Regions from separate parts of the Homo sapiens genome. Here regions 1, 2, 3, 4, 6 and 7 are each linked to region 5. The links are contacts of gene promoters, found by promoter capture Hi-C in blood cells and fetal thymus (Javierre and others, 2016). All regions are on one chromosome and are shown on one strand. The core of a region is centred on a gene start or on the middle of the fragment in contact, and the rest is flanking DNA. Distances in the headings are between cores, read along the strand shown. Region 1 has its middle 33 kb from the start of STK39. Region 2 overlaps STK39 (serine/threonine kinase 39). Region 3 overlaps STK39 (serine/threonine kinase 39). Region 4 overlaps STK39 (serine/threonine kinase 39). Region 5 holds the start of G6PC2 (glucose-6-phosphatase catalytic subunit 2). Region 6 overlaps STK39 (serine/threonine kinase 39). Region 7 overlaps STK39 (serine/threonine kinase 39).

Region 1 (2,700 bases), core at 133-2,632, 620 kb before region 5:
GGAGATACTATAAGCAAAGAACACCATCAGAGATTAGCTATGGGTAGCAGTGATATTATTTGGTCTTAAATCTACATATTCTCTGTTTTTTGTTAGCATTATAATCAGTTCCTGTTTTTATGTTTCATGATAAAGGCAAGTGGATTTTTGTAATACTTAACTATTTATTATAAAGTTTTTGCTGTGTCTCCCCAGACTGGACCATTTATCCATGAAGCTTGAGTGACTAGAAGGCTTGTTAGACTTGTTCATTATAGGAAAATGTGCTTGCTCACTTGTCATTAAATGTATCAGTTGTGTGCTAAAGCCTACTCACACCAGCCTGCAAAAGCCAGTGAGGAATATATCTTCCCAACTCTGCTTTCAGTGACTTCATGTTATTTGCTTGAAATAAGCCAGAGTAGGAATATTATTGACACCACCAAAATAGGCAAATGCTAAAAATCACAGCTCTTTTCTTACCCTAGAGAGCTGGTTGTAAAATATTTACCAGCACATTACTAAAATATTTGTTTTAAGAAATTTAATCTGCTCACTTAAGTTGTAAATGAACTCACTAAATTTGTGTTAATTAATTTACCGTTCTATCTACTATGTATTTCTTATTAAGCATGGAACATTTTGATTCACTCTTATACATATGGAAAAATTGAACTCTGGCAGAGTTTATTCAAAAATTTGTCTTTGTACTTATACTTGCTTTTTCAGTTTCTCTCTTTTCTTATTTAATTTTTGTCCACTCGATATATAAAAACAGATGGAGGTATGTTTAAATATTCCCACTAATGGTTTTGTCAGTTTCATATTTTAAAGTTATATCATTTAGCTTATAGAAATTAATACTGTATTTCTGTTGTGTATTCTACCCTTAATATAAAATGATTCTTTGTTCCATTTAATGATCTTTTTCTCAATTTCTAGTTTGATAATAATAATGGCACTTTTCCTTTGTTTTACTCTCACACATAACTTTATTTTTACCTTTTTATTAACAAGTTATACTTGGACATGATTTTTTGACTCAATATGAAGATCTTTATTATTTAACTTCAAGTTACTTGTATTTATTAAGGAATGGATATACATGGTTTCCCTTCTTTTTTTATATATTTTATGCTTTCTTGCTGTTTTTTTAAAAATTATTTACTATGTTGTGTTAGGATCCTTGCTTTTTTCCCCTTTTGGTGATTTGACATTTTTATTTTGTTAATGGTTAAACTACACTGTCCATATTTCAATTTTTTTATTATGGACCAATCTTTGATTGCCTAGAATAATTTTAAGAAGTATATGTGATAAATTAGAAAATTTTTTGCAGCTAACGCTACAAAATATGATTCCCTCTCCAATATAGGGTTGCCAGCAATTAGGTAGCAAAACACTCACAGCCCAATTAATAAACAGGCATAGGATATGAACAGAAAGAAATACAAATGATCTTTAAACTTATGACAACATATTTACCTTTCTTTTTTTGCTTTTTGAGACAGGGGCTTGCTATGTTGCCCAGGCTGGAGTGCAATGGCTATTCACAGGTGTGATCATAGCACACTATCACCTCCAACTCCTGGCTTTAAGTGATCCTCTCACCTTATCCTCCTGAGTAGCTAGGACTACAGGCAGGGGCTAGTGCTCTGGCATCTAACCTTTTTTTTTTTTTCATCATTTTGAATTTGTCTTTTTAAGTTCTGGGAAAATTTCTTGAACATGTTTCCTAATTCCCTGAATCAAAGTTTTATCATATTTCATTTGCTTTTATTTCTTCTTATTGTTTATAATTTAGGAGCTGTGATTTGCATTTCCAAGAGCTCTTTCCTACTCTCAATTATTTTCCTTTTCATGGTTATGTGTCATAGTTTTATCAATGTATTGTCTTTATCAGTCTTGTTGAAAGCATACATTAGAAGTTTCCAAACTTCTTATTTCTTCAGGAACAACTTACTGTGATGATTCAGATTGGCTGCAGCTGTTCAAAATGTTATATATGTTTCTATATCTGATGATTTTCTCCCATCATCCTAAAGAGATTCTAGTTATACCGCTAATCACAATAGCTAGTGTTTATTGTGCATTTATTATAAGACAAGATTTGTGCTAAAGGATCCACACATGCCATTTAAGTAATCTTCACAACAGCTAGAAGTAATCTTCACAACAGCTGGATGCTAAATATTACTATCCTCATGTCCTAAGGGTACTACAAGTTCTCCACCCTTTCACAAGAATAAGATTACTTCACAGAGTATTCTGGGCACCGCCCAATCTACCCACCTGCAAGAAATGAACTACTGAACTGAAAGGAGAGTGCTTCATTTCTTGCAGGTGGGTAGATTGGGATGTGCATTTCCCCCACCTGTGCAGAAGATCTATTTTTCCCAGCTACTACCTCCAAGCCAAAAGTGTTCTGGTATCCACAGCTATAGTTCAGTTAGCTTTAGCTTTGCTTTGGTAGTTCTACTTTGGTCTTCCAGATAATGCCAGCCACAGTAAGTAACCTTTACATGTCCTTCAGAGACTTACGTTTAAAAGGCAATACTACATGTTTACCAAGCTTAAGCTGTAAATGAACTCCCTGAATTTGTGTTAATTAATTTACCATTCTATCTACTACGTATTTCCTATTAAGCATGGAACATTTTGATTGGCTCTTACACATGTTTACCAAACTTATATGAGCTCCATAAATAATTCGTATCAGTC
Region 2 (2,700 bases), core at 195-2,694, 760 kb before region 5:
CTTTTAAACAGCACCAACAACTTGTTCTGCAACTAACAGGAAGCTCATGCAAAATTCAATAGCTCTGCCTAGTTTAGACTGGAGCTAGCAGGATATTCAAATCCTGAGAGGTCAGTTCAACCTACACAGTGAAGAATATTAGCTCAGCTTCTGAATGCAGCACTGCCAATTTCTTTTGATTTCTGTTTTACTTCATTTCCTTTGATGACAGAGCCCACACTTAACAAGCACAGTGAATCTTGTTAACACCACAATTTTTCCTCTGCCTCTCCTTCGTTCTTCACCCACTTCTTTCCCTCTTGGACCCACACCGTCTTTCACTAACAGGTTGGAAATCTGGGGACCACAGCAGGGTTTCCCAGACAAGAAATACCTTTCCAGTGTCCTCACAAAGCCTTTCCCCATCTACAAACAAAGCTTTGTCATGGCTCAAACCAGGTCATTAACTCATCCACTAAGTTTCACTTACCTTTTGGAAGGATCTTTCTGAAGACACAGTGAAAGTAATTTTCTAAAGGACTTGCCGTACTTTTTCATCATTTCTTTATCCTCTACCCCTGTTTCCAAAGTGGGTGGATCATTTTGCAAAGTCAACATTAACACCTGCAGCAGAAACAAACATGAAGACAGAATCTCAGTATAGCAATTGCTACAATCTAGTTTTGAATTTTTCATAAAAGTGTAAAAAACCATCCTTGATTAGATACAAAGTGCTTTCCCATGATTTTAACTTTGCAGAAATTGTGTATTTAAAGTATTCATTACCACTGCAAATGTGTTCATGCCCCCTTTAACCTTTTTGTTATTCCATTGACAGAACTTACAAAACTTGCTCTATGTGTTAAGAATGATCCCGGACAGAGCTTTCTGGGAACTGGCTCGTGTACTGCCTTGAGGAGCACGTAGCTCCAGCACAGGCTAGTTGGGAAAGCGGGTGGAGGAGAAGAGAGAGGGCCAGCGAGGCAGTGACTGTTCATGTATACAGGTCATTCATAAGTAAGGAACTGCCTGTACTCAAGGCTTCTGTAACACATTACTAGCCCTAAAAATAAAACCACAACATCCCAGGAGGTAACATGATTTCCTTTAAAAAAATGAGAAAACATACAGAAAATTGCTAAAAGGCTTGGCAAAGCTGAGAGAGCAGGACACTGAAGGATAGCCAGAATATAACTGAGTTGCTAAAAACTGTCATCAAATCCAAAGTCCTTGCTGCTTTCGGAGGGGGACAAAACAAAATAAAATACAACTTTAAATCAAAACGGTAAAAATTCCACTCTTTCATACTAACTTCAAAAGTATTTGCTTTAAAAAAAAAGTGGAAAGTGTAGAAAACTACTAGCCTGTACAATCAATAAAACTCATTAATGCATAATTCAGCCTTAATTTATGCAAATGCTATACATGTCAAGCCTCTTTTCAAACACTTTCAGATGTGTGAATAGATGAAGCGTGAAAGTGACGGCTTATTGTTTGTGGAGGATAATAGCCCACAGGAGAAAGCGGGAGACTGGGAACTCTGAAGAAAAGTCCTAGAGGACGTCAGGCTGGGACAAGCAAGTGCGACTTTGAATTCAGGTGGGAAACACTGAGAAGAGGCAAAAGAAAGAAAATGAAGAAAGAAAAACTGAATAAAAGAAAAAATCCTTCAGCATTACTTCAGTGCTTTTTCTCCAAGAGGTCACTTCAATTGTTTACGCTTCAATTTTAAATTTTCTGCTAGCAAAATCCGGTATATGTACCCACACACACACAAATACACTAAAATCCTAACTATGTTAAAAAAAATTTATATATATATATATAAAAACAATAAAATGAATTACACTGAAACCTTAGTAGAGATTGTCTGGTTGATGAGATTACGGATGATTGTTTTTCTTCTTTAGTCTGAGTTGCACATCCAAACTTTCTACAATATGAGTATACTACTTCTTTTAATCAGTAAAACTCACTTTTTATTCTTGGGTTTTTAAAATAAATCCTCCCAAATTTTTCCAGTAACCATGAAACAATCATAGACCATACTCTATGTAAAATAGCATTATAATTTCACTAAACTATTTCAGCCTCAAAACAAAATCCAGTTGGGTAAATAAGCCCTGATACCACTATCTCAGAACTAAGAGAAATAATGAGGTATAAACCAGTTAAAAGAAGAGCAGAAACGTGAAAATAGCATCCTAAAAACACTGTGGCTCACTTATATCAGATCAGTTGCCAACATTACACTATAAGAGCAGGGGTAAAAATGTTGTAGTCCACTTAAAAAGAAAGAAAAAAAAAAGCTCTGAAAATCTGGGAAACCCATTTGCAGAGATGACATCACTATAATCTATTTTGAGATATTCTCTGGGAACCTGGCGTTGTTCTGCTATCAAAAGAGTAATGACCAGCATTTGTCATAGCTATCAACCTCCATCAACCAATCTGATAACATTATTTTCTTAACTCTGTGCTGAGACTATAAAGCAAGCTTCAAAGCTGGGAATTATGCTACTTTTGTCCTATTCTGTCCACTGAGAAAATCAGACAATGTTCAACTTGGCTGCGTTCCTCCATTAATTCTCCTCGGGTCTAAGAGAAGAATGAAGATGTTGAAGAGAATTAGAAAACAGATTCCGTCCAATCACATTTCAACCCCGATGTAGTATTTCCAATTGTAATTACTTTCATGGGAGGATATTTGTGATAAGGCGC
Region 3 (2,700 bases), core at 1-2,500, 660 kb before region 5:
GCAGTCACTTTACCACAGTTTCAAGAGAGATCTTGAGATCTCTCCCCCCAGCCCCATGACAGCACATTTAAAAGAGTATTTATCTTGTAAATATAATTAATGCTACTGAATTGCACACTTTAAGAACGGTTAAAATGGTACAATTTTTGTTGTGTATATTTTACCACAATAAAAATAATACAAAAGAGGCCGGGCACAGTGACTCACGCTGTAATCCCAGCAACTTGGGAGGCTGAGGCAGGCGGGTTACTTCAGACCAGGAGTTTGTGACCAGCCTGGCCAACATGGTGAAACCCTGTTTCTATCAAAAAATACAAAAATTAGCCAGGCCTGTAATACTAGCTACTCGGGAGGCTGAGGCAGGAGAACTGCTTGGACCTAGGAGGCAGAGGCTGCAGTGAACTGAGATGGCGCCACTGCAATCTAGCCCAGGCAACAGAGCAAGACTCTTACAAAAAAAAAAAAAAATATATATATATATATATATATATATATATATATATAAAGAGGCCAGGCACAGTGGCTCACGCCTGTAATCCCAACACATTGGGAAGCCAAGGCCGGAGCATCGCTGAGCGGAGGAGTTCAAGAGCAGCTTGGGCAACATAGTGAGACCCCCATTTCTTAAAAATAAAAAAAGAAAAAAAAAATTAGGCAGGCATGATGGTTTGCACCTATAGACCCAGCTACTCAGGAGGCTGATGTGGGAAGATCACTTGAGCCCAAGAGTTCGAGGCTGCAGTGAGGTATGATTGCACCACTGCACTCTAGCCTGGGTGACAGAGTGAGACCCTTTATCAAAAAAAAAAAAATACAAAATACAAAAGAACATTTCTATATACATTTTTCTATTTATTAAAAAAGAAAGTGAAATGAAATGAAAATCAAAGCCCTGTCTTGAGACAAAGCATTTCAGACATCATTTAGTATTTTAAAAACAACAACAAACAAACTAATCAAGATCAAAGAACCCACTGCAGCAGCAAGGCAGCCTGGTATAAAGGTCTGGGAGATCAGAACACACTCAGTGCTCCGGCTCCCTTACCCTAGCGCCAGCGAAGGTACCACTGTCCTCAAACTGCCTCTAGGATATCTATAAAAACCAATTCTAACCCCCAAACCATAGAAATCCACAGAAACTCTGAGAGCACAGAGCAAAGTGGGAATGCCCAGGGCTATTTACAATCTCATTTTACAAGAGGCTGTTGCTCCTTAAAGACCTGGCCATATGTGCTATTACCTGGACCTGAGTAAAACGCACCTGAATGGATAAACAATGCCTCACAGGAGAGAAATAAAGCATTCAAAGGAACCCTCTGTCAAACCATGTCCAGGATTCTAGAACTCAAATTCTTCGTGTTGACTAAGATGGCAATTTGTTACTTTTAGGTCATTCTAAATGACCACCCGGGACAAAAGTGAAGCAATGCTGAGAAATCTAGTATAAAACTACATAAAGAAAGGTGCATCCTGCAAAAACCCTAAGAAAATCAAACAAACTCCTGCTGAGGCAGGAGTCTAGGGTTTCTCAGAAGAAATTCAGCAAAGATAACAACATTGCTGGAATCACCTAATTCAAATACAGAAATTAGTACTTCAATGACTACAATTCTTTGAATGAGAAGTTCATTGAGGCTGCTCCATTCCATTACGGATGGCCAAGTAAACACTTATATGATTCACTTTCATTCCCTGTTTAGCAAATCTAGGTAATATTATTAACACCCCCAACAAATAAACTAAGTTTTCAACTGGCATAGCTTTAAGTGCCCCTTATACTTCTAAAGGTAGGGGTACCTACTTTTGGGGGCTCAACTCACCCCCAAATTCCTTCTTTAGAGAGGTAAGGAACAAAGATTAACAAGGCTGAAGAGTATAAACAGGTCGGAAAGCCTCCAAAAAGACAGAAATATTTGAAATCTACTAAGACAAGGATATCAATGTCTGGAAGAAGGAATTTAATAATTTCCAACATTTTTAACCCCTCTGTAAATATAAAGCTCCCTCCCATCGATTTTACATCATTTCCAGGTCATGAATAAACTTATGAACCAGAATACTCCTAAGAGCATTACAATTTCTCCACTGACGTTTTAAAACACAAGAACAACAATACAATAAAGAGAAAACTTTATTTTTAGGTTTGCAAAATCCTGTGTTTATTTTTCTAAAACTGAAGTCAAACAACTGAACCTGCTTTGTTTGGATTTTAGTAAACTTATTCTCTCTTAATCCTGGGGGACCAAACTCTGCCCAGAAGGAAATGAAGAAAAAGTCCTCCGTGCCCGTGCCATGCTGGAAAGTTAAAACACGGTGCCTCCTTTGGTTTTCTGTTCAGGCACATCTGAGCCTCCTGCTGCTGGTCACGGTTCACACTGCTGGAGTCATATCATATGACACCTGCCGTATGGCGGGTAGAAGCAAAGGCTGTCAACTGGCATTCATGTTGAAACTGGTTCAGTGTTTGAACTGCTAACTTCTGCGTGTAATGTTTAAGCAAAAGTGCTTAACCACAAGTTCAGTCTTAATCTCTCAACTAGCATTAAACCCTAAATGGAAACAGGTTTGTAATTCCTTATAAACATTAAGCCCTTGCGAAAAACCTATTCCAGCAATTTGATTTTTCAATAACAGGGCCTCCACACAGGCCAACTCTTTCTCTTTTAGTTGGGAAAATATGAGATAAACTTTAAATGTAGA
Region 4 (2,736 bases), core at 213-2,712, 720 kb before region 5:
ATACCTCTCATAGTTAAGTCCTTGACAGTAAAAGTCTCCTAACCTCCAAGGAACAAAAAATAAGAATTCTAAAAACATGGAGGGGTAGGTGGTGAGAAAAATCTTTTATTAAAGCTTTACAGCTAGAGAATTGTTACTGCTTTACAACTACAGCTAACTAAGGAACGACTGGCTACTTCTCATCTCTAGACAGAATTATGAAGCTTTGTGACCTGAGATCATTGTCACAACATGGATGGATTTAACCATTCATTAAACAGTTTGGGAGATTCTACTCTAAATCCAAAGATTTCCCTTCAACTATAGAAGAGACCAAGAACAAAGTTAAAGGTGGAAAGGCACCTTAGAGAGCATCAAGTCCAACCCACCCCCTCACTTTATGAATGAGAAAACAGGGTCCTGTGAAGGATAGGGATGTGTTTCCTGCAGCAATTGGAAAGCACAGGATTAGGACCCTAGGCATACTTATTCCTTATCTACCATTCTGTGCACCAGGTTGGTGTTTTTTCAAATTGCCAGTGAGGATCCACTGGTCACAAAATCAACTAACTGGGTGGAGGCCAGCATTGTTTAAGGGAAGCATCAGAATGTAATAAGGGTAAAAACTGCTTTATGAAACTTTTGTTTCACTTACGCCCAAGCTTTAGTATGACATGTTTTACTGTAAGTGATGATCAAAAGTTTGGAGTCTGCTAGTACTAGATTAGGATTCCCAGGATTAGAGTAAATCCATGCTTTGAAAGGAAAGGAGGTGACCTAACTGCATAATTCTAAAGGACATTTAGAAATAATACCAACACTGTCTTGCTTTAAGGGTTTTTATGCACTTTGCTGATTAGTTTAAGAGGAAGCTAAAAAATGTGGGGCTTGTAAATACAGGAACTGGACAAGTGTTAGCAACATGAAATAAAATAAGAGCAATTACTATGCTGAACAGCACCTTGTATTTATTTTGAACAATATATGATACTGACACATGACTCATTAACATTAGTAGCATATTTTCAATGAAGTATCATGCACCCCTTTTGGAATAAGAGTTCTTAACATTTTATGAATTTCTCATTTTATTCCTGACTCCTATTTCAAGTGCAATAAATCATTCAATAGGATTATGGCCTGTATGCACATATGCACAAGTTAAGTGGGCACGGCTTTAAATCTTTTCAGTTCACTCTTTTAAGTCACTCTATCTCAATTCACTTTTGCTAAGTAATTCCCGACTAAGAACAGCTACTTGGAAGTTTTAGATAGTGATTATGTCAATGGCAATCAGAGGTAAGAGATTGCTCACGTTCATTACCATGATGCAGATTTTTCCTTTAGTTGACACCTCTTCTCATTTTCCCCTCTGTACTGCTGCTGGTATTAAGGTAAATAACCAGAACACTGCATACCTGCATTTTATACTTTCAGTTATCCAAAGAAATATTTCATGGAAATATAATTTAGTATTCTAACTTTGCATTTCACTAAGGTCTATGTGAAATTAACATGAAAAACTACAGTGTTTATTTTGCAAAAATCACTACTATTGTCAAATGCAGTTTCAACAGTATGTTCAAAGTCCCTACTCCCATGACTCACACAATAACTTCCTCTTTGCATTTAGTGCATTTAGTGCAAAAAAGCAGCAAAAAGATATTTGCTTATATTAATTCATCAACAAACAGTAATTAAATCCCTGCCATGTAGCAGGCAGTTCACTAGATAATAAAGTGCCAAAGGTGACCATTCCTGCTTCAAGTGGAATAAATCCTTCTATAGGATCACTTCCTCTGCAGAAGTTAACAGGGATGACTAAAATGCTGTTGTGGACTGAATGTCTGTGTTCCCCTAAAATGTCTTTGTTGAAGCCCTAATCCCCAATGTGACTATATTTAGAGATACAGTTAACAGATAATTACCACCTTTATGGAGGTAATTAAAGGTTAAATGAGGTCATCAGGACAGAGCCCTGGTCCAATAGGATTAGTATCCTTACAAAAAGAGACAATAGAGAGCTTACTTTCCCTCTCTGTCCTATGAGGACACAGCAAGAAGGTGCCTGTTTACAAGCCAGCAAGAGAGCCCACCAGAAACTGAAGTGGTCAGCACATTGATCTGGACTTCCTAGACTCCAGAACTGTGAGAAATACATTTCTGTTGTTTAAGCCACTCAGTATATGGTATTTTGTTACAACAGCCCAAGCAGACTAATACAAAAGCCTTGAAATGTCTGTTCAAAGTCATTCTTCCACTAACACCTATGGCAGAGAATGCCATACTAATTAGAAGTTCTTAGAAGCTTCCTGATTAAGTCAACAGCAAATGGCAAGATTCAACTGAAAGGCCTCTGGTAGCTCATTGTAGTTCCCATCTTAGGTTAGTAGGAGCCTTGAAAAGAAGGTTAGACAGGGATTCTATCCAAACGTGGTATTGATTCCCTCTGTGACTTTCGACCTAACTGCTATCTAGACTTCAGCTTCCTTAATGGGCATAATAAAATACACCTTTAAGGCTTCATAACATAATATATTTCACATCCCTGGAAAACATCAACTCAATAAATGTTAGGCTCTCTCTCTGGGACTCATTTCTCCATCTGTGACATAAAGGAGGTAAACTATATCTACTGTTTATATGGCACCCAAGGGAAAAGAGGGCAAAGTGGCTCAGGGTCAGAACTGAGTTTCATTTTGCTTAGCACCAGGAAGATTAGACTGGTTTAAAAGAGAGGCTAGGAGAGCTAAATTT
Region 5 (2,758 bases), core at 81-2,580:
TTATGGCAATTTAAAAAGCACCCCAAAAGATGTTAATGGTCAGTCAATGCATTTCTTCCAGGTAAGGTACCAATAGACACTGAAGCCCAGTAACAATGGTGCTGTTAAATGATGGGACACAAAACTCGAAGAGAAGTTCAAAGTGATAGTTATAGCCTGTGAAGGACTCTAGTGAAGTCTTTTGTCTTTACTTAGGCCATGGTAAGCAAAGACAAAAATCTGAATGACAAAATAACAAGTAAGGTTACCTAGATCCATCCCTGGCCACCTTGTGAGGCTTTGTTGCTTTCCCACTAATCCTAGACACAATCCAGCTCTCTAAACCCAACATCTCTCTGACTTAGATCCATAGCCTCTTTGTGCTACCCTTCTGTTCATTCTCAGTCTACCCTGGTCCATAGTCCAGGGTCCAGTCGTAGTCTATAGTCCAGGACCAGAGTCCTGGTCTATAGTCTAGTCATAGTCCACAGCCGTAGATTATGGACCTATGACTTAGATCCACAGCCTCTTTGCGCTACCCTTCTGTTCATTCTTAGCATTTGTTTGGTGCTTTCCACTTCTGTTTAACACTCTGTTCTCAACAAACCATTTTCCTGATTGGTCAAAAGCCCTTTGATGTCTATTCCTATCTTTGTCACATGAATCATTCCCTATTCCTCTCAACTGTATTCTCTAGTTAATAAAAGATACAATTTGATCCTAACACATTTCTATTATCCAAATGACTTTCATTTCTGCTTTCTTGTCTTATAGTCAAAAAACAACACATTTCTTTCCCTGTTCCATATATATTCTATCATTCTCTTGGATAAAGAAAATTGAACTATTCTTATTTTAAATCAGTGATCAGAACATAATCTGTCATATCATATATTTTTCATACCCAGATATTTATTCAACCATTTTCCTCAAAGACCCAATAAAATAGAGAGCCACAGCCTATCTTAAATTAAAATGCAGGGCTTTATGGGCTATTTGACATGCAATAATTATTTGCAAAGTCTTTTCACCAAACATAGAAATTGCTAATGTCTGACCTTGGAGGAAATGAACTGTACAAAAAATTTCAAGCAAACATGATCCAACTGTTCGCACAAAAGGGAGGTTGCATAAGAAATTCATTGTGTTTCTATCCAAATTTCCCCCTCGAATTGCCACAGATCAGCATGTACTTCACTCTTTGCCACCAATTAAAATCATAAATAGATGAGCTATTCAGCAGAGGAGGGCTGGTGTGCCCTCTCCACAGATGGTCAGCATCACATGTTGCAGTAATGGCTCGACATGCCACAAAGGCACAGTATAAAAACGGTGGGAATCAGAGCACTTCAGCTCCAATTGCTCTATGTTTAGAATTGCCTCTTTTTCAAGATGGATTTCCTTCACAGGAATGGAGTGCTCATAATTCAGCATTTGCAGAAGGACTACCGAGCTTACTACACTTTTCTAAATTTTATGTCCAATGTTGGAGACCCCAGGAATATCTTTTTCATTTATTTTCCACTTTGTTTTCAATTTAATCAGACAGTTGGAACCAAGATGATATGGGTAGCAGTCATTGGGGATTGGTTAAATCTTATATTTAAATGGTAAGATTTCTGTTTTATTTCATTTTTTCCTAAGATTTATCCTTAAATTTGTGACTTCGGCATAATGATCACATTTCAGATGTATATCGTTTTACTTGGAAAATCTTTCAAAAATACCAGGTAACTTGAAACACCAGATTCATAAGTAGAACTTTTAAAAGGCACAGAAATGTATATATATGTTTTTGTTTTTTTTTTTTTTTTGAGACAGAGTTTTGCCCTTGTTGCCCAGGATGGAGTGCAATGGCGTGATCTCGGCTCACTGCAACCTCTGCCTCCCAGGTTCAAGCAATTCTCTCACCTCAGCCTCCCGAGTAGCTGGGATTACAGGCATGTGCCACCACACCCAGCTAATTTTGTATTTTTAGTAGAGACAGGGTTTCTCTATGTTGGTCAGGCTGGTCTCTAACTCCCGACCTCAGGTGATCCACCGACTTCGGCTTCCTAAAGTGCTGGGATTACAGGTGTGAGCCACCACGCCAGGCCAGAAATGTGTACTTTAATGACTTATAAGTAATTCCCAAACCCCTGTAACACATATTCTGTGATTAAGAATTACTTACATGAGCAGCGTGATAATGAACAAATTGATAATTCTAGGGACAAATTTTGATATTTCCAGTCTAAGTATCCAAAGCACCCATAAGACATTCCCTGCAAGGGAAAAAAGCCCCCATGTTCATGGGAAACCAGGGTGCCAAAATACCAAATGGCTACCACCTTTAATAATGTGTGAGAGACCAAGACCTAAGTTTTTTCAAAGTCTCTTAATCATGAACTTTCACAATTAACCCTGCGCTTGAGTCATTTTTTATAGGAAAGAATTGCTAATCTCCAATTAAATAATAGCTGTGTATTTAAATATATATGCATGTTTATAATTCTTTAAATACAGGATATTATTTGGTCATCGACCTTACTGGTGGGTCCAAGAAACTCAGATTTACCCAAATCACTCAAGTCCATGCCTTGAACAGTTCCCTACTACATGTGAAACAGGTCCAGGTAAGCTATTACAGCAGGCTCCAGTTACTGAAGATCTTCCAATAGAGAATCATTACACAGGGTTATCATCTAGGAACTGATATTATATAGGGTAGTAAAGAAAATCTCATGAGTGAGGATGCTAAAACTTCATAACAATCAAAATTACTAATGAGGAAGCAAAG
Region 6 (2,700 bases), core at 122-2,621, 740 kb before region 5:
ATTCTTCATGAATAAGTCATGAAAAGAAGTTACTCAGGTAAGAAAGGGGAACCCTGAACAAGAAGCTATAAGCATTTCAAGTCACAGCAGAAAGCACTTGCAGACATGACCAGAAAAACAGGCAGGTCCCTCATCTGCCATTAGTAGGAAGCTGGAGCTTTATTCCATCAACAATGCTTTATTCCATCAACAATGCTTATAAACTTTATGCAAGAGGAAGATACAGTCAGATCTACACTGCAGATTCTTCACTCTGGTGATATTGAGGAAACTGATGGGAAAAAGAAAAGAGCAAAATAACACGGCAGGAGGTCAGATGGAGTGCCTAAGGCCTCGCACCTCCCTAGCCACCGTGAGCTTACCACACCCTAAGTAATTAGAGGACACCATCCCAATTTCAATACGAAAGCAATGAGTTAGCAAATTCTAAAATAAAATGTGTTTTAACTCCTTTAATGCCGCAGTATATTCTCATTACACAAACGTGCAAAATGAGGCACAGAGAAGCTAAAGCTATAACTTGGTTACACAGCTAGAAGGAGCAATGCCAGGACTGAACTATGGCTGTCTGGTGTCAGAGCCCATGCTCTGGGCCAAGGTGCTCATAAATGTGATGACATCATTTCCTGATTGGATGCCTCCGGGGCTTTCAGCGCTTTCCCACACTAATCAGAAGCTGACTCCAGCGCTGCTCGGGTGCCTTGCTCAAAGCAGCAGCCTCTCTTCCCTACAACACAAAAAATAACTCTTAAACCCCTACCCTCCCCATCAAAGTGCACTTTATGAGGGCCAAAGGCCACAGAAGGAAAATGAAAGAACCTAGCAGCTATGGGTGTAAAAACTCAACCACCTTGCCCATCTTCCTCTAGCTCCTTAATGGATAACGCCTAAGTGACAGAAGCAAGTTAAGTTTCATTGCATGTTTTCCTAGCACTTTTAGTCATGGGGTTTTCAGTGTTCAAGATGCAGATTTAAAATGAAGATGTATTCAAGGCTGATAAGGATATTATCTCCCTCCCAGTAAATAAGAGATGCTACCCAAAGTTCTACCAATGTACCTTGGACAGTGAAAAACCCAGGGCATAAGCTTGATTTGAATGGATGCACATACGTGAGGCATTTTGATGGTAACTTTCTAGAGTTCCAGGCTGCTTTCGCTCAGTACCAGTTTTTATTTCTGTTATGTAAAACCAGGGAAGGGAAATTCACATTCACACACATAAGCACTGTCTTTGTGTATTGGGCCTACTATAACAAAATACCTTAGACTGGGTGACTTAAAAACAACAAAATCTTATTTATCACAGTTCTGCAGGCTGGGAAGTCCAAGATTATGGCATCGGCAGATTCACTATCTAGTAAGGACCCGCCTTCTTGTTTATAGATGGTGCCTTCTGTTCGTGTCCTCACATGGTAGAAGGGCACGGCAGCTCTCTGGGGCCTCTTTATAAAGGCACTGGCCCTACTCATGAGGGTTTAGGCCTCATGATCTTATTACCTCCCAAAGGCCCCACCTCCTAACACCATCACATTGGTAATTAGGGTTCAACATATGAATTTGGAGGGCACACAAAATTCAAACCACAGCACACACACACCTAAAAGGCAAACGTAAGTGAAAATGAGCATGAGATCTACCTTACATAATGTAGTAGTAAGCTTCTACAAAGTTCTTTATAAATCAAAGGTGTTGAAATCAACATTTTTATAGAACATCAAGAGTAGCCACTATTTTTTTTAAATCTTAGATTAAAAAGATTAGCAGAAACCACCTCAAAGTGATCTGTTTCATATGAATTTCTGTTTGCTCAAAATAGTGTCTCTCATTAATTCTGGACAAACAGGCTTAGTCATTTGCCAAAGCACTAAGCTCTTCCTGACAATATGACAGGGCATCAAATTGGAAGATAAAATGCTATGCCGTGGGAAGAACATGACTTTCGAGTAGCCACTCCCCCTTCTATCACACAGTGCAGCAAAACCTATTACATTTTCCAAGGCATCCAAGTTGATTATCAGGAAGTTACACACACTGGACCTCTAAGCATAGAAGGTACAGTAAGAAGGAAAGCATTTTCTCTTAAACCCTGAGTAGGCTGTCCTCAGGTTCTAATTCACTACATCAAACCTGAAGTTTTCCAGTCTGAAAAGAGTGTGGTGTCATTATTGAGCTTAATTCTATACCAAATGACGCTTAGATGGCTGCTTCTCCTATGCCCTGAAACCTTACCAGGGACACCCTTGTGTTTCAGCCTGAAGGAGCAAGGAGGAAGAAGGTGCTGAATATGTTCCCTGGCCCAAAGGGGAATCGATTTATGCAGAGACACAGAAGAGCTAGTGATCGCTGGGGTATATTCCATCTGAAAGTGAGGTCATTTAAATCCAGATTTAAGGTCCTCCTCCTGGAAATCCCATAGATGTGAGTTGACAGTTTCTAGAGTCAGACTGTCCAAACCCAAAGCATGGCTACACCGCTTATTCTACGTGTGACCTGGGCAACTGACTTCCCCACTGTAATTTAGTTTCTCCTATGTAAAATGGATGCAATAGTACCTTCCTCATGGAGTTGTGCTGAGGACTGAATGAGACTCAAAGCATTCAGAATCCAAAACCTAGCCTGACACACAGGAAGCACTCAAGACACATTAGTTCCTGATTTTATACCCACGTTCAATAGAAATGTACATTCTTCCCAGAGAA
Region 7 (2,700 bases), core at 57-2,556, 800 kb before region 5:
GTGTGGTGATTCCTCAAGGATCTAGAACCAGAAACACAATTTGACCCAGCAATCCCATTACTGGGTATATACCCAAAGGATTATAAATCATACTACTATAAAGACACATGCACATGTATGTTTATTGTGGCACTATTCACAATAGCAAAGACTTGGAACCAACCCAAATGCCCATCAATGACAGACTGGTTAAAGAAAATGTGGCACATATACACCATGGAATACTATGCAGCCATAAAAAGGAATGAGTTCATGTCCTTTGCAGCGACACAGATGAAGCTGGAAACCATCATTCTCAGCAAACTAACACAGGAACAGAAAACCAAACACTGCAGGTTCTCACTCATAAGTGGGAGTTGAACAATGAGAACACTTGGACACAGGGAGGGGAACATCACACACCAGGGCTTGTCGGGGGTTAGGGGCAAGGGGAGGGATAGCATTAGGAGAAATACCTAATGTAGATGATGGGTTGATGGGTGCAGCAAACCACCATGGCACATGTATACCTATGTAACAAATCTGCACGTTCTGTACATGTATCCCAGAACTTAAAGTATAATAAAAAGAAAAAGAAAAAGCCTACATTTGAGAGCTTACTTGGTATACTACTTACTGCACTACACTAAGAACTGTGCTATGTTTTTAAAAAATATATACATTGGCCAGGCGCTGTGGCTCACACCTGTAATCCCAGCACTTTGGGAGGATGAGGCAGGTGGATCACTTGAGGCCAAGAGTTCAAGACCAGACTGGCCAACATGGTGAAACCCCATCTCTACTAAACATACAAAAATTAGCCAGGCATGGTGGCGTGCACCTATAGTCCCAGCTACTCTGGAGGCTGGGACACATTAATTGCTTGAACCTGGGAGGCAGAGGCTGCAGGGGGCCGAGATCATGCCACTGCACTCCAGCCTGGGCAACCGAGCAAGACTCTGTCTCAAAAAAAATAAAAACAAAAAAATTAAAATAAAATATATACATTTTTATTGAGAGATAATCCACCGTAAAACTCAACTATGTAAAATGGGAATGTCAATTGTTAGTATATTCACAGAATTGTGCAACCATCACCACAATCAATTTTAGAACATTGCTGTCACCCCAAAAAGAAACTCCTATCCCCATTAGCAGTTATGCCCCAATTTCCCCCTACCCACCAGCCCTAGGCAACCATTAATCTACTTCTATCTCTATGGATTTGCCTGTTTTGGGTATTTCACATAAACGGAATCATCCAATATGGGTCTTTCTTTCCATTCATTAGTTGATGACAGTTGGGTTGTGTCCACTTTGGGCTACTATGGATAATACTGCCTTGAACATTCATGTACACTTTTTTTTTTTTAATGGACATAACCTTCTCATTTCTCTTCCATTTGTACCTAGAAGTAGAATTTCTGGGCCATATGCTAACCTTCTGAGGAAATGCCAGACTGTCTTCCAAAGTGGCTGCACCATTTTATACTCCCACCAGCATGGGAGGGTTCCAGTTCTTCCACATCCTCAGCAACACTTGCTTTTGTCCATCTTTTTTATTAGTGCCATCCTAGCGGGTATGAGGTAGTATCCTGTTGTGATTTTCATTTGCATTTCCCTCCCTTGCATGATCTTATGAGGTAAAAACCAATCCGTATTCCTGTTGGGTATACAAGGAAACTGGATTGGAAAGGTTCAGTGACTGATTAAAGATAAAAGTCATATGCAGATTCTGCACTCTCCAGAGCCCATTTCAATGCACAACTACAAGGTCTCACAAATTCTGAGAAGGCTGTACAAGCCAGCCCTTCAAGATTCTTCCAGCTATGACATTCTGGGACCATGAATTTATACTGTTTAAAAATCTCTTCTCAGCCAGGTGCGGTGGCTCACGCCTGTAATCCCAGCACTTTGGGAGGCCAAGGCGGGCAGATTATGAGGTAAGGAGATTGAGACCTTCCTGGCTAACACGGTGAAACCCCGTCTCTACTAAAAATACAAAAAAAATTAGTCTGTGTGGTGGTGGGCACCTGTAGTCCCAGCTACTCGGGAGGCTGAGGCAGGAGAATGGCATGAACCTGGGAGGCGGAGCTTGTAGTGAGCCGAGATTGCACCACTGCACTCCAGCCTGGGCGACAGAGCGAGAATCCGTCTCAAAAAAAAAAAAAAAAAAAAAAAAAAATCTCTTCTCTGGGTGAATTTTCTCTTTGGATTCAATATGAGGACTATTTGGACTCCTTCTGTGTAGGTTTGTGTTCCAATCACAGGGATGATGAGGCTACATCCCTGTCACACTGGCTCAGGGTCACATCTGAGGTCTACCTTGAGCAAGTATACTGAACTTAATATTTTGGCTGCACCAGAAAAAATCACCCATATTCAAGCATTCTGGACTGCTGATGATGACAATTTCATGTTTCATGTGTATTTCGTAAACTAATCTCACTCCTGGCTTTCTATTTACTTTCTTATCCTTATGTTCCTTTACCTTCCTTTTTGCATTTATCAAATAAATTTTACCCAGCTACACTGTTTGCATCTTTGTAAGCCATCTCGAATCTTTTCTGAAATAGAGTAGTAAAGAAATAAACACATCAAAATGTTTTCAAGTAGGCTTCAAAATAGCCCACAGCTGCGGACCCTTTCATTAGACTGTGTATTTTCCTAAGCAAACTATTCTCCAAGAAACAGAAAACATTGCCCTTCTTTGTACCTTAG

What was found. The method cuts DNA at HindIII sites, captures the fragments that hold promoters and counts their contacts. A CHiCAGO score of 5 or more calls a contact.
Region 1: a fragment that was not itself captured here is called in contact with the fragment with the promoter of G6PC2 in region 5 in 1 of 17 cell types (monocytes); the score reaches 6.2 in monocytes.
Region 2: a contact is called between a fragment that was not itself captured here and the fragment with the promoter of G6PC2 in region 5, in 9 of 17 cell types (total CD4 T cells, naive CD8 T cells, fetal thymus and 6 more). The highest score is 9.9, in total CD4 T cells.
Region 3: a contact is called between a fragment that was not itself captured here and the fragment with the promoter of G6PC2 in region 5, in 1 of 17 cell types (monocytes). The highest score is 5.1, in monocytes.
Region 4: a contact is called between a fragment that was not itself captured here and the fragment with the promoter of G6PC2 in region 5, in 1 of 17 cell types (fetal thymus). The highest score is 5.5, in fetal thymus.
Region 6: a fragment that was not itself captured here is called in contact with the fragment with the promoter of G6PC2 in region 5 in 7 of 17 cell types (monocytes, activated CD4 T cells, fetal thymus and 4 more); the score reaches 9.1 in monocytes.
Region 7: a contact is called between a fragment that was not itself captured here and the fragment with the promoter of G6PC2 in region 5, in 1 of 17 cell types (total CD4 T cells). The highest score is 5.3, in total CD4 T cells.

What each region holds. Positions count from the first base shown.
Region 1 is chr2:168,279,264-168,281,963 of GRCh38, forward strand. No RefSeq gene overlaps it. Among named protein-coding and RNA genes, the nearest start is that of STK39, 33 kb to the left of the region's middle. The HindIII fragment of the contact is 2,334 bases long and covers 216-2,549 here.
Region 2 is chr2:168,137,619-168,140,318 of GRCh38, forward strand. It overlaps STK39 (serine/threonine kinase 39), which reads right to left. Exons shown (of 18, transcript NM_013233.3): 7 at 2,671-2,700; 8 at 470-603. Among named protein-coding and RNA genes, the nearest start is that of STK39, 110 kb to the right of the region's middle. The HindIII fragment of the contact is 2,059 bases long and covers 416-2,474 here.
Region 3 is chr2:168,242,094-168,244,793 of GRCh38, forward strand. The region is part of intron 1 of STK39 (serine/threonine kinase 39); the gene reads right to left. Among named protein-coding and RNA genes, the nearest start is that of STK39, 4.2 kb to the right of the region's middle. The HindIII fragment of the contact is 5,114 bases long and covers 1-2,700 here.
Region 4 is chr2:168,184,167-168,186,902 of GRCh38, forward strand. The region is part of intron 1 of STK39 (serine/threonine kinase 39); the gene reads right to left. Among named protein-coding and RNA genes, the nearest start is that of STK39, 62 kb to the right of the region's middle. The HindIII fragment of the contact is 1,646 bases long and covers 640-2,285 here.
Region 5 is chr2:168,899,961-168,902,718 of GRCh38, forward strand. G6PC2 (glucose-6-phosphatase catalytic subunit 2) reads left to right here and starts at 1,331. Exons shown (of 5, transcript NM_021176.3): 1 at 1,331-1,589; 2 at 2,485-2,594. The coding sequence starts at 1,372. The HindIII fragment of the contact is 12,445 bases long and covers 1-2,758 here.
Region 6 is chr2:168,156,194-168,158,893 of GRCh38, forward strand. The region is part of intron 5 of STK39 (serine/threonine kinase 39); the gene reads right to left. Among named protein-coding and RNA genes, the nearest start is that of STK39, 90 kb to the right of the region's middle. The HindIII fragment of the contact is 572 bases long and covers 1,086-1,657 here.
Region 7 is chr2:168,100,793-168,103,492 of GRCh38, forward strand. All of the region lies in intron 10 of STK39 (serine/threonine kinase 39), which reads right to left. Among named protein-coding and RNA genes, the nearest start is that of STK39, 150 kb to the right of the region's middle. The HindIII fragment of the contact is 5,155 bases long and covers 1-2,700 here.